Linked DNA regions of Homo sapiens: regions 1 and 3 are each linked to region 2. The links are contacts of gene promoters, found by promoter capture Hi-C in blood cells and fetal thymus (Javierre and others, 2016). All regions are on one chromosome and are shown on one strand. Each heading gives the region's core, a stretch centred on a gene start or on the middle of the fragment in contact. The rest is flanking DNA. Distances are from core to core; before and after follow the strand shown. Region 1 overlaps SNRNP200 (small nuclear ribonucleoprotein U5 subunit 200). Region 2 holds the start of ARID5A (AT-rich interaction domain 5A). Region 3 overlaps CNNM4 (cyclin and CBS domain divalent metal cation transport mediator 4).

The links. Contacts are between HindIII fragments. The CHiCAGO score rates a contact against its expected background, and 5 or more counts as called.
Region 1: a fragment that was not itself captured here is called in contact with the fragment with the promoter of ARID5A in region 2 in 2 of 17 cell types (total CD4 T cells and naive CD8 T cells); the score reaches 5.4 in total CD4 T cells.
Region 3: a contact is called between a fragment that was not itself captured here and the fragment with the promoter of ARID5A in region 2, in 1 of 17 cell types (M0 macrophages). The highest score is 5.3, in M0 macrophages.

Annotation. Positions count from the first base shown.
Region 1 is chr2:96,287,282-96,291,590 of GRCh38, forward strand. SNRNP200 (small nuclear ribonucleoprotein U5 subunit 200) reads right to left here. Exons shown (of 45, transcript NM_014014.5): 18 at 4,111-4,221; 19 at 3,403-3,534; 20 at 3,045-3,233; 21 at 2,518-2,715; 22 at 1,946-2,098; 23 at 1,756-1,836; 24 at 1,382-1,465; 25 at 582-688; 26 at 158-276. Among named protein-coding and RNA genes, the nearest start is that of SNRNP200, 16 kb to the right of the region's middle. The HindIII fragment of the contact is 2,153 bases long and covers 944-3,096 here.
Region 2 is chr2:96,534,166-96,538,257 of GRCh38, forward strand. It overlaps ARID5A (AT-rich interaction domain 5A), which reads left to right and starts at 2,587. Exons shown (of 7, transcript NM_212481.3): 1 at 2,587-2,665. The coding sequence starts at 2,662. RefSeq lists silencers at 2,506-2,865, 3,546-3,755 and an enhancer at 4,026-4,092. The HindIII fragment of the contact is 5,212 bases long and covers 1-4,092 here.
Region 3 is chr2:96,782,559-96,786,753 of GRCh38, forward strand. The region is part of intron 1 of CNNM4 (cyclin and CBS domain divalent metal cation transport mediator 4); the gene reads left to right. Among named protein-coding and RNA genes, the nearest start is that of MIR3127, 14 kb to the right of the region's middle. The HindIII fragment of the contact is 701 bases long and covers 1,949-2,649 here.

The DNA of each region.
Region 1 (4,309 bases), core at 770-3,269, 250 kb before region 2:
TTCCAAGTCCCCAGACCAAGGGCCAGCCTGTACTTCAGTGGGACTTGGGGAGTGAACACAGGATACTAATGCACAGGCCTAGGAACAGGAAGACTACATAGGCAAACTGGGAGAGACACCCAGGCAGTGAGGACAAGGGCGAGAGCATCCCACACACCAATCTCATTATGATTCAGGTCGTACAGACGCTCAAAGGGGAAATTCTTCTTCTCAATCTTCTTCACTACTTCCTCAGGGAGTTTCCGGAACTGGCGCAGAGGACACATGGACTGCCACCTATCCAGGAAGGAGGCAAAGCTGTTGGTCCCTTCTGCAGGGATGTGACAAACCACCCACTTCATGGCTTCCAATAGTTTAGCAGTGACTACACAAAACACAGTCATTAAAGGCAGACACTGACACTGTGCCAGCCCTGGCCTCCACCACAGAGGGCCTTCCCTCTTCTCAATGTGCACCAAGGTTCAGGTCATACTTCCGATGTCAGGTCTGGAGATCAGATGCACCCTGAGGCTTTCCCATCAGACCCTTGGGTTGGGGACCCCCACTCATGGTGACCAGCATCCAGCTCACTGGGTCCTTACATGCGTTTGTCGATCATCTTGCAGAGGTTCAGGGTCTTGTCTGTAAGCTGTGCCCAACCTCGGTTCAGGACAATTTCAAATATCGCTCGCATCAACCGGCCAGCCGACTAAGCAAAGAAGCAGCATTCCCACTGTTAAGTCTCGACTATCCCCAGGCCTCATGAGCCACTCTACACACGGTTTCATTACCTCCAGCTCTGACACAACCACCCACCCTAACTCAAAGGCAAAGTCCCCTCTGTCTTTACGCCTTTCTCCGTTCCATATAGTAGATGCTTGCCGGATGGGGAACAATTAGAAGAGTGCTGCGGCTCAAGGTCACTGCACAACATTTTAACCTAACATTCACTGCATGATTTTAAAGCTTTTGAGTCATTTAGCATTTAGAGTTCTAGGAAGAGTTGAGGGTACCAGTGACCTGTTCTTAGAGGTAAAGATGAAGAGCAGCTAATAAAACCCTGTGCCATTTTTGGATTTATTTATGAGCTGTGCAGCAACAGTGGGAAATCACTTTGCTGCTGGGAAGCAGACACTGCGTGCTGTGGCTCTTCCTGTCTCTCTGAGGGCCCGTGGAGCCTCGAAGCATTCCCTCTTAAGGTCTTACCTTTCCCACGTGCTCAAGATGTATACTACAGAGTGGCTGTACCACACATGCACCAACCAACTACCCGGCAAGAGCAGAACTAAGCACTCCTCCCATCTCACTAGGGTCGGGCCTCCTTTCCCCAGGATGCACACAGCACACAGGGATTGAACTGTTCAGGCCCCTTCTCACAGCTGCCATACAACTCCGCTCTCACCTGTGTGACATACACCATGTCAGCCATCAGTGCAAAGCCCTCCAATTTCAGCTGTGAGATGAAGGCTTGCAGAAGAACGTTGATCTGTAAAGAAGCAAAATCAGCCAGCAGGAGACCAATCACTGAACAGTCCAAGAAAGGGAATTACATTTCTGCTCTGAGCATCCAGGCCAGGTGAGATTTGCTACAGGTCTTGATTTACAAATACTAAATAATTGTTATTTCATATAAAAAGAACATGCGAGAAGGCTGCAAAAACTAGGAGAACTGAGCAGGAAACCACACATGAACCCAAATTCAAGGTTCATCTTTTAGAAGATTATGAAAACCACTTAATCCTCATCCTTATCAAAGCAAAGAGGAGAGGAGCTCACCTTAGCACTGGGTTCCTCAATGCTCTCCTTTACAGGGATAGGCACCCTCTCCAGCAACTTCTGCAGCTCCAGCTTCTCCTCCTGCCACAAGGAGGAAAAGGTCAAGGGAAAGCCTTGTGGCCGAGGAGGGACACCATTCAGTGACTTGGTGAGCACCAACTCCCCGCCCCATCATGCTGCATAGGCTCACCTCTCTCACTGTGATGTTCTTGAACTCAGAGGACAATGAGAAGACCCTGAAAAGCTCAATCTCACTCAGGGTGGGCTTCAGCAGCTGGTTGTAAGTCTGCACTGTATCATTGGTGATGTAGTAGTGGCTGGCTATACGGCCCAGTTCTGTCACCTGGAGAGAAGGTAGACTCAATCCAGTGCTGACTATTAATGAGCTCCAACCTCTAACTGTGGACCATAAGTTACTGTCCTATAGGTTTTTTGTACTTTTTTTTTGGTAAAGTATATGACCCAATGTCATTATTGTCCTAATAGGACAACTGGATGAAGTCACAGCAGTACAAGTGCCAGGCCCAGGCACATGAAGAAAAACAGCAGAATAAGCTGACCCATAGTGAAATGATGTCTGCACGGACAAGACAGCTGAATTATCCACCTCAAGTTATGGGAAAAGCTACCCATTTTTCTGCTGTTCTAAGCAACAGGTGATTAGATAGGCAGTACTCACATCAAGAGAGCAATCTGAAAAATTTTTTCCTGGGCCAACAACTTTTGCTGAGACCTTTGCCTCAAAACCCTCACCCCACGCACCTGGAAGTTGCCCGTCTTCTTGTCGTACTTGACCAGATTGTTCTTGTCCAGCATCAGGGCAGCTGTATGAACCAGATCTAGTCGGCGCTGGTCCAGCAGGGGATCTCCCTTGAGGTCATCATGAGAGATGCCATAGAGGGTTGGGGATCGCAGCATTCGGATATAGAGGTAGGCATAGCCCAGCCAGTTCACCGCATCCTACAAGACACAGCTCATGGTTCTTAGCATGGAGAAACTCTTGATGTCCAAATGACAGGCTCCCATGAATTGCTTAGAAATTAATTCCCAACTACAAGGATGCATATTACATCGTATTCTGAATGTTTTTAGCATTTCATTATTAAAAAGATCTAAGCGTCTTCTAAGATCTTGGTAACAAGGGGAACTATCTGCCAGACCCAAGATGTGGGTGCAGGGATGGAAGGCCTCGGACGCTGCTGGCCCGCAGCACAATAGGGACCGACCCACTCCTGGTGCCTTGGTGTCTGCGGGGAAAGCATGAAGCACAACAAGCAGTCCTCCCCTACCTTGGCATTCTGGACATTTCCTAGCACGATTTCTGCATTGAGCATGTCAGGAAGCTTTGAAACCATCTGGCTTTCAATAGGAAGTTGTTGATTGAGGAGGGACAGGTAGTACTGTAGCTCCCCATGAGATGTGATGAGTATGCCTTCACCCTTGGTGTCATACTGGGGTCTTCCGGCACGTCCCAGCATCTAGATCAGAGACAGCGAACCAAGAATGCTATGTCAAGAGAATGTCTGAATTTTGATGCAGGTATCTACATTACAGAACTAGACCTCTGATCTGCTAGCTTTCCAGCATCCCTGCATTTCAGGCAAGGATACTGATCCCTGCTGAGAATAAACTCAAAAGGCTCTGTACCTGCAGAATGTCCAGTGCTCCCAGTTCTGTCCAACGCCCCTTCTCTGGACTGTACACCTGGGTGCCTTTGATGATGACTGTATGTGCAGGGAGATTCACACCCCAAGCTAGAGTTGCTGTGGAAACTAAAACCTACAGAGGCAAAACAAGGTAATGAGGAGAACAGATGCCATCACCAGGGGTTAATATCCCTGGCTTCTCTAGGCAGTTGGCCTCAGAGCTTCTCTCAGGACTAGCCGGTAGGGCGCGTGGGGTCCCAGTACTTGTCAATGTGACACCAGAATAAAGAGGAAAGGTTTCCTTGGGTTCCTCATCTATTCAGTAATGAACATTTCAAGGTTCCAGAGGCACAAGTGCAGACTTGTATTAAACAACCTTAAAGTTACTAGAAAAGGTAAAACAGAGCCTATCCGGAAAGAGGGAACGACAAGGGCACGCGTGCCCCCATGAGACACTGTTTGGAGCTATCTGAAGTCACCAAAGTGCTTGCTTCACTATGCTTCTCAGACTATCCTAAACTCAAGCAAGGTGGGAAGAGTTGGGAGAGTAGCATAAGGTTCTATTTATTGTGTCCACCACAACCCTCTGACCTGGGCTAGCTGGGCCAGAAGCAATAAAGTACCAGGAGCAAACATGGCACAAACTTGACATTGCCCATCTTCTGAAGTATGTCCCACCTGCTCCTCCAAACGCTTTGCACCCCCTCACCTGAATATGTTTATCAGCAAAAAGATCCTCCACGAGTGTTCGGTCAACCCTGGTCATGCCTGCGTGATGAATAGCAAAGCCATAAGGCAGAAGATCCTTCAGCTCTAGGTTCTGTGGAACAAAGAACCGGGGATGAGGCGAGCCTTCCTGTAGGACTCATCCAAGGACTAAGGAAATCTCCTCCCATGAGACCCTGCCC
Region 2 (4,092 bases), core at 1,337-3,836:
ATGGAGGTGGGAGTTAGAAAGCAGCTTTTAGCTCAGTCTCTGGGAACACTTTGTGAGCTCCTTAGCCCTGGAACTGTTCTAAGGGGGTCTATAATGTTCTCAGCAGGATTCATGTAATTGCAAAAAGATTAAACGCTATCAAGAGGAGATTAAATACACTGTGCTGGGCACACAGCCCAGCAGTTCCCAAAGAAGCAGATCTGTGTTCCAACAAGGAAAGTCTGTAAGATCTAGCGGTGATCGAAAAAGCAAGTTTCAGAATGGAGCAATGAGAATTGTATCGTTTCTTTAAACACACACATAAAACAAAGCTATCTATTTTTCTATACCATGGATACATATATAGTTTTGAAAATACACATAGGGAAAGTTCTGGAAGACTTCACCCAATCTGATGGGTCTTTACCTCTGGGGCAGGGAGGGAACTGGATTTGGTGTAGCATCAGAGAGGGCTGATTTACTTGCATGTTTTTACAGGACGAATGTGTTTATTTATAAGTGATGGTTTGTTTTTCTTATTATTAAGACACACAGAGAGACACCAGGACACTGAGGGGCTAGCTGACCCCCTCTGTAGGCACAGAGGCGTCCTGGCCTGGGATCCTGTGGTTGGAGGGTGCAGAGGAGGGTGGCTTTGGGCCGGAGTGGAGGTGTGTGAGATGGAGGCTTGAGCAATGGAAGTGTTTATGCTTTTAGCCAGATGAATGGAGATGTCTGTTTTCTGCAGGATTTACTGGCCATTGTAAATTACTTTCTATTGCAAACAGTTGCCTCAGGAAGCAATTAAATTTAGATCCTATCGTTCCCAGGCTGGCACAGGCAGGTGTTGACTTGCTGAGGCTTTGCACAACAGCCCTTGTCTGTCAGAATGTGCCCAGCTGCCCGGATGGCAGAATAACCCTAACTCTTGGTGGGATGAGCTGCTGTCTTATAAGATAGTGAGTTCCTTGTCATTAGGGGTATCCAACCCACAAGTGAGGGGTTGGCCTAGATTGTGACCCCGGGGGCTGCATCCAGAGCTCCATCCCCAACCTTGGGCATAGTGCCTGCCAATCAATGCTTCCAGAATGTACAAAGGTGCTTCCTGATGGCATCCCATCATAGTGTCTTCCACCACAGCCTTAGCTTTCCTGGAGGGGAAAGTGGCTTGTAAACTTGCCAAAGTGGGATGCATTGTTATAATTACCATTATGATTGTTCTGGGTGTCTATTACCAATTCTACAGGTGCTGGCTCTTACAAGCCAACCCATTATGAGGTAGACAGGGGATTTATCCTGCAGAGCCCACAGGGTCGTCTGCTCTAGACTGAGCCTGCAGACATCTTCCATCCCAGGGCCAAAGGGTAAGGGCCAGGGTTTCAGGTTCACCAAACTGCAGCCCTGGTCCCTTCGTTTAGTGTGAGGAGGGGCACCAGTATGATGAGTGGTTAGTAATGGGTGCAAAGCGGGTGGGGGGATGCCTGGGTATGAGGGCTCCTCTTCCTGGGTCTAGCTCTGGCTCCAACACCTACCAGCTGTGCTACTTGAGCTAATCTCTCAGACCTCAGTTTTACGCTATAAAATGAGGACAATGATGGTGTCAAGTGCATAGAGCTATTATGAGTATTAAAATTCATCAACAAAGATTTTTGTGTAGCTTCTATGTGCTAGGAACAGGGTTCCCATCCTAGCTAGCCACCTGCTGAGACTGAAACCCTGAGCCTCCATTTCTTCCTCTTTGGCCTGCACAGGTCCAGGTTGCTGCTATGGCTGGCTGGGCACCTCCTCCTGCCTCCATTCGCCCTAGGCCTCATTCCCACCTCCCACAGCCTGAACTCATGCCCCTTCTTTGGACTACTCAGCTTGTAGCTGCCACACTCTGTCTGCATTATGTGTGTGGACATTGACTATTACTGGCAGGCCTGGCCACAGAGCCTAGGCCAAGGATTTACTAGTTTGGTCCTTGTCTAGCTCACACTAACCACCTCTCCTTTTTTTTTTTTTTTTTTTTTTTTTTTTTTTTTTTGAGGCAGGGTCTCCGTCTATTGCCCAGGATCCAGGATAGAGTGCAGTGGTGTGATCAAAACACACTGCAGCCTCGACCTTCTGGGCTCAAGTGATCCTCCCGCCTCCGCCTCCCAAAGCAGGGATTCCAGGCGTGAGCCGCCGCTCCCGGCCTCACCTGGCCTTCTTTGTTGGGCTAGGTGGGGACTGGGAAATGCACAGGGCCACTTTCAAATCAAAGTCAGAAGCACTTTGCTCGCTCCACAGAGTCCTCAGTGCTCTGCTGAAAGCAAGGAGGCTTTTTCCAAGGCTCTAGTTTTGCCTCCAGGGAAACTGAGGCACAAGGCAGCAATGATTACTGAGGGTCCTGCCTCCGCTCCTCTAGGTGAGGAGCCTATTCCAGGGGCTCCAGTCTGAAAGCCTAGAGGCGAGGGGCGCGCACTACAATTCCCAGAGGTCCCCGGACTCAAGGGCGGTCCCCGCCCCCCGCCTTCTCCGCGCGACGAAGCCGGGCTTACCAATGGGAGCCCGGAGTGGGGCGAGCAGGGGCGGGACGGGGCGGGACTGCGGGGAGGTGGCCGGCGGGCCGCGCCGCGAGCCAGTATCTCAGAGAGCGCGGGGTCCGGACAGCCGCGCGCTGAGGGTCTCGGGGCGGGCGCCGCGGGACCTCTCCGGGCCATGGGTAAGCGGCTCTGCGGCGCGGCCCGGACAGGGGCTCGGCGGCCCTGCAGGGAGGTTCAAGGTGCCGGCGCCGGGTCCCCTCCAGCCCTCGTGGCAGTCGGTGCGCTGTGTGGGGCGGAGAGGGGCCCGGGGTGGGTTTCGGGGCGCGGGCCAAGGGGAGCGAGCCCGGCCCGCGGCTTCAGCGCTCCCCGGCCGGCGCGGAAGGGGTGAGGCTGGGCGTCCGCGCGAGCTTCGAGAAAAGGAAAGACAAAAAGTTTTGGCGGCCAGGGGCTTCCCGGGCGTTTATCTCGAAACTCTTTTCGCCGTCTCTTGCCTGAAATATGCCGAGCCCGGTACGGCTCTGTCGTCCCACTTCCTGCTGCGGTTTCCACCTCGAGCTGGGCTCAGCTAATTTGTTGTGACAGCTGTCGGCAGCCGCCCCTCCGCCCCGTGACATCCCGCAGGTTTCAGAACCGCGGCGCCGCCGGGCACAGACTCCGGGTCCAGAGCGCGCGGCCCTTTCCTCTGCGGCCGCCGTTTCCTGAAAGGGGCTGCGCGGGTGTGAAGAACTTGCTCAATGCGCTTTGTAGGATCCACTGTTCCTCTTTCGGCCGCGGGCTGCGCCGATGGTCCGGGGAGCCCGGCTTCTCGCCCCCTGCCCCTTCCTTCTCTTCCCTTTTCTCTTTTCCTCTCCTGTCTCTCCGCCCACCCGCCGCAGCCCCACAGGAGAGGGGTCGCTTCCCTGGTTGCTCTCCTCTCCTGTCCCTTGTGTGTCCCCTTGTCTTCCCTCGGTCTGCAGAAGGGACGGGGTGGCGGCTGGGGAGCGTCAGGGGAAGAGGGCAAGAGCGTGGGCTACGAGCTTGCAGGCGATGCCCGGCTTCGCGCTCGGCGGGAGCTGCGGGCCAACCCGGGCCCGCGCTCCGTCCCTCCGCGGTGTCTAGGGGTCGCCCGGGCTGGGGTCGCGTCACCCTCCGCCCAGCGCCGGCGTGGTGGGGCTTGCGCGGTGCAGGACCCCCGAGGGCCCAGGGGGTCCCAAGGCGCTGCGGGTCCAGTGTCCCTTTGTTTGCAGAGTCTTGGGCCAGTAAGGAGTGCTCCGCGGGCCCCAGGGGAGGACAACAGGTGCCTCTTGCCCCACCCGGGCTCCTCTGGTGGGAGCCCACACGCACGGTGGCGTCACTGCGCCTACAGGCAACGCTAGAGCACAGGAGGGGTGGGAGGTCGGGGCTCGAGGGCTTCACCCCGCAGCAGAGCTCAGAGCCCAATCCAGGCCTTAGGGACCCGCCTGGGGCCTAGAACTTGGTGTGGCAGAGGTAGAAAGGGCCTCCGATAATCTGCTTCTACAGTTGAGAGACGTCAACTGGCACCTCTGAGCCTCTGCCCCGTAGGTGAAATGGGAACACACGAAACCATCTGAGGAGCTCTCACTGTCCGTCACCACCAAATGTGGCC
Region 3 (4,195 bases), core at 1,049-3,548, 250 kb after region 2:
AATATTCTTGTCCTCTTCCTCCCCTTCTGTTCCTACACCTAACAACCAGTATCAGCCTCTGGCATCACCTCAACTGTTGCTATAGTTTTCCTCTCTGTTTGACATCAATGATTCCTTGGAATGATTTTAGTAGTTTGTAAACATTTGGAAACAGTATATGATGACCAGGAACCAACTGGGGTTTACTAAGGGGAAAAAAAGCTAATTTTCATTTCTTTTGTGTATGTTGGGGAGGGTAGGATTACTAGGTTAGTGCAATGGAAAGCTAGTCCCAGAATAGATGTATTTCAGCAAAGTATTTAACAGAATTTCGGTTAAGTCTTTAGGATCAACATGGGACCTGTGGGCTCTTTAATAGTGGTCCACGCTGGGAATGGGGGCTCACACGTGTAATCCTACCACTTTGGGAGGTCAATGCGGGAGGATCTCTTGGGGTCAGGAGTTCAAGACCAGCCTGGTCAACATGTGAGACTCTGTCTCTATTTTAAAAATTATAAATAAAAAAAAATTAATGGTCTCACTTTTAGGTTGATTTGCCTGTGGATTATTAGCTGGTTGCCAAAAAGGTTCAAAGAATGGAGCCTCACAAGGCCATGAGTGAGCTGTGCCTCTCTGTAAGCAATTGAGCAAAGGTACAGCGGGGAAGGGGTTCCCTGCCACCTCTGGTAGGGGATGCTGGGGCAGGGGCGAGATGGCTGTGAGCCATGCTTCCAGCTCTGCAGTTCCAGGAGAAAATGCCAGAGGTGCTTCTGAGAATACGGACTGGGTGGAAAGGAAGAAGCAGTTTGCTGGAAGGGTCTGAACTCAGAAGGACGCTGATGGTGCTGGTAGGACTGCTGGGACCCCCTGCACCTCCTGGCCACGGAGAGATCCTGCTCCCAGGGACCAGCGTCTGGGTGGGACACAGTTCACTCCTCTCTCCACTTCATGTTCTTTTTCTTCAGCAGATGGCTCAAGTTCCTTGTTTTTCTCCTTGCTTTCTGACAGCCGTAGCTTCTGAAACCTGCCATTTTTGGTCTCCTGATGCCTGATTTCCTAATTGTCCTGACTGTGTCTTCTAGGAAGCATTAAGTCTGAACTGACTTATTAGGGAACTTCAGAAAGTTAAACACACAAAACCCTTTCTTTGACTCCTATCTTAAGGACATGGAGATACAGTTACATATATTTATACACAAGGATATTCATATGGCAAAAACGGGGAGAAGGCACAATTTAAGAGCCCAATGGGGACTGGGATTGTGTATGCATCTGTACAATGACATGTTATGAAGTCATTCTGTTTTTTATAAAACTTTTTAGTGACATGGGAAAATACAAAGAATGTAAAGAATTTAAAAAGCAGCGTACAAAACAATATATGTGATCCAATTTGTGGTGGAAATATTTTATCTATATATATCCATTTTAAAACACCAAAGAAAATACACAGTTAACAGTAGTTATCTTTGGAAGGCAGGATTATAAGTGATCTTAGTTTTCTTCCTTCCACTTTTGTTACCGATATCAGAAAAAAACTCTGTCTCTACGAAAATAAAATAAAATGAAATAAAATAAAATTAGCTGGGTGCAGTGGCTCATGCCTGTTGCCTCAGCTCCTCAGGAGGCTGAGGCGGGAGAATCACTTGAGCCCAGCAGGTCGAGGCTGCAGTGAGCTAGGATCGTGCCACTGCACTCTAGCCTGGGTGGCAGCAAGACCTTGTCTCAAAAAAAAAGAAAAAAAAAGTCCTTATCTTTTAGAGATACATATTGAAATACTAAATATTTTCAGGTAAAATGTATACATGTTTACAGATAAAACCTGGGCTTTGCTTCAAAATCAGTGAGTAGAGCAAGTGGGAGTAGCGAGGAAGAAAGGCTGGTCATGAGGAGCTGTTAATTGTTAGGTGAGGGTGTAATTAGATTATTATCTCTACTTTTGTAGATGCTTGATATTTTCCATAGTAAAAGCTTAAAAATCTAGAGACTACTAGCTAAATGGAAAATCAGAGGCATAAAGACCTGTCCCCAGGGTGAGGGGCCAGTCTTAGAGTCCCCATCATCAGTTTGTCAATAGCTTCACCCACTATGGGCTTGTATTAAAGGAAGAAGGCTATCTGTAGCAGAAGTCCCATTTCTGTATCCCAGCCTGATCACCCCTTGGGGTGTGACCCTGGGCATGACTTCTCTGGGCCTTAGCTTCCTCCTAGGAAGAGTGGGATTGACAGTAGATGTAGGGCAACTCTCTCCTGGGAACATGGTCACCCAGACAGGTTGGTGGCAGGGGGAGGTTGACCATGTCCTGTGCGAAGAGGCAACTGAGGCATAGCTATCTTTATGGGGCTATTTTTTCTTTTTGAGATAGAGTCTGGCTCTGTCACCCAGGCTGGAGTGCAGTGTTGCAGTCTTGGCTCACTGCAACCTCTGCCTCCCGGGTTCAAGCGATTCTCATGCCTCAGCCTCCTGAGCAGCTGAGATTATAGGTGGGCACCACCACGCCCAGCTAATTTGTGTGTTTTTAGTAGAGATAGGATTTCATCATGTTGGCCAGGCTGGTCTCAGACTTCTGACCTCAGATGATCCTCCTGCCTCAGCCTCCCAACGTGCTGGGATTACAGGCATGAGCCACTGTGCCCAGCATTTACGGGGTATTCTAAAGGGAGCTCTTCAAGCTTTTCATCTTGCCCCTATTTTAAAACCTTTTTTTTTCTTTTTAGTTTGTGCCTCCATTCAATCAAAAATTATGTACATGTGCTGTTATACTAGTACATGTATTATAGAATGAACACAGAAAAAATTTAAAGAAGTAAAACCGAAGTCCAGGTGCAGTGGCTCATACCTGTAATCTTAGCACTTTGGGAGGCTGAGGCAGGAGGATTCCTGTAGCCCCAGAGTTTGAGACCAACCTGGGCAACATGGCGAAACCCCATCTCTACAAAAAATACGAAAGTTGGCCAGGCATGATGGCCTGTAATCCAGGCTACTTGGGAGGCTGAGGTGGGAGGATCAGTGGAGTCCAGGAGGCCGAGGCTACAGTGAGCTGTGATCGTGTCACTCTGCACTCCAGCCTGGGCCACAGAATGAGACCTTTGTCTCAAAAAAGAAAACATAAAAAAATTAGCTGGGCGTGGTAGCATGTGCCGGTAGTCCCAGCTATTCTGGAGGCTGAGGTGGGAGGATTATTTGAGCCCAGGAACTCTAGGCTGCAGTGAGCTATGATTGTACCACTGTTGTCCAGCCTGGGCAACAGAGAGAGACCCTGTCTCTAAAAAAAGATAAAAATGCCAGGCGCAGTGGCTCACGCACTTTGGGAGGCTGAAGCGGTGGATCACGAGGTCAGGAGATCCAGACCATCCTAGCTAACATGGTGAAACCCCATCTCTACTAAAAATACAAAAAATTAGCCGGGCATGGTGGCGGGCGCCTATAGTCTCAGCTACTCAGGAGGCTGAGGCAGGAGAATGGTGTGAACCCAGGAGGTGGAGCTTGCAATGAGCTGAGATCACGCCACTGCACTCCAGCCTGGGCAACAGAGTGAGACTCTGTCTCAAATAAAGAAAAAAAAAAGATAAAAATAATTTTTAAAAAGTAAAGATAGGCCTGGCGCGGCAGCTCACGTCTGTAATCCCAGCACTTTGGGAAGCTGAGGTGGGTGGATCACCTGAGGTAGGGAGTTTGAAACCAGCGTGGCCAACATGGCGAAACCCCGTCTCTACTAAAAACACAAAAATTAGCCAGGAATGGTGGCATGCTCCTGTAATCCCAGCTACTCGAGATGAGGCAGGAGAATTGCTTGAACCTGGGAGGCAGAGGCTGCAGTGAGCCAAGATCGTGCTATTGCACTCCAGCCTGGGTGGCAGAGCAAGACTCTGTCTCAAAAAAAAAAAAAAAGTTCTTAAAAAGTAGTGTATTAGAGAAACTTAGAAAAGTGGAAAATGATTAAGAAATGAAAGTCACATGGCCAGGTACGGTGGCTCATGCCTGTAATCCCAGCACTTTGGGAGGCCCAGGTGGGCAGATCACTTGAGGTCAGGAGTTCCAGACCAACCTGGCCAACATGGTGAAACCCCGTCTACTAAAAAATACAAAAAATTAGCTCAGCGTGGTGGCAGGCACCTGTAATCCCAGCTATTTGGGAGGCCGAGGCATGAGAATGGCTTGAACTTGGGAAGCGGAGGTTGCAGTGAGCTGGGATCGCACCACTGCACTCCATCCT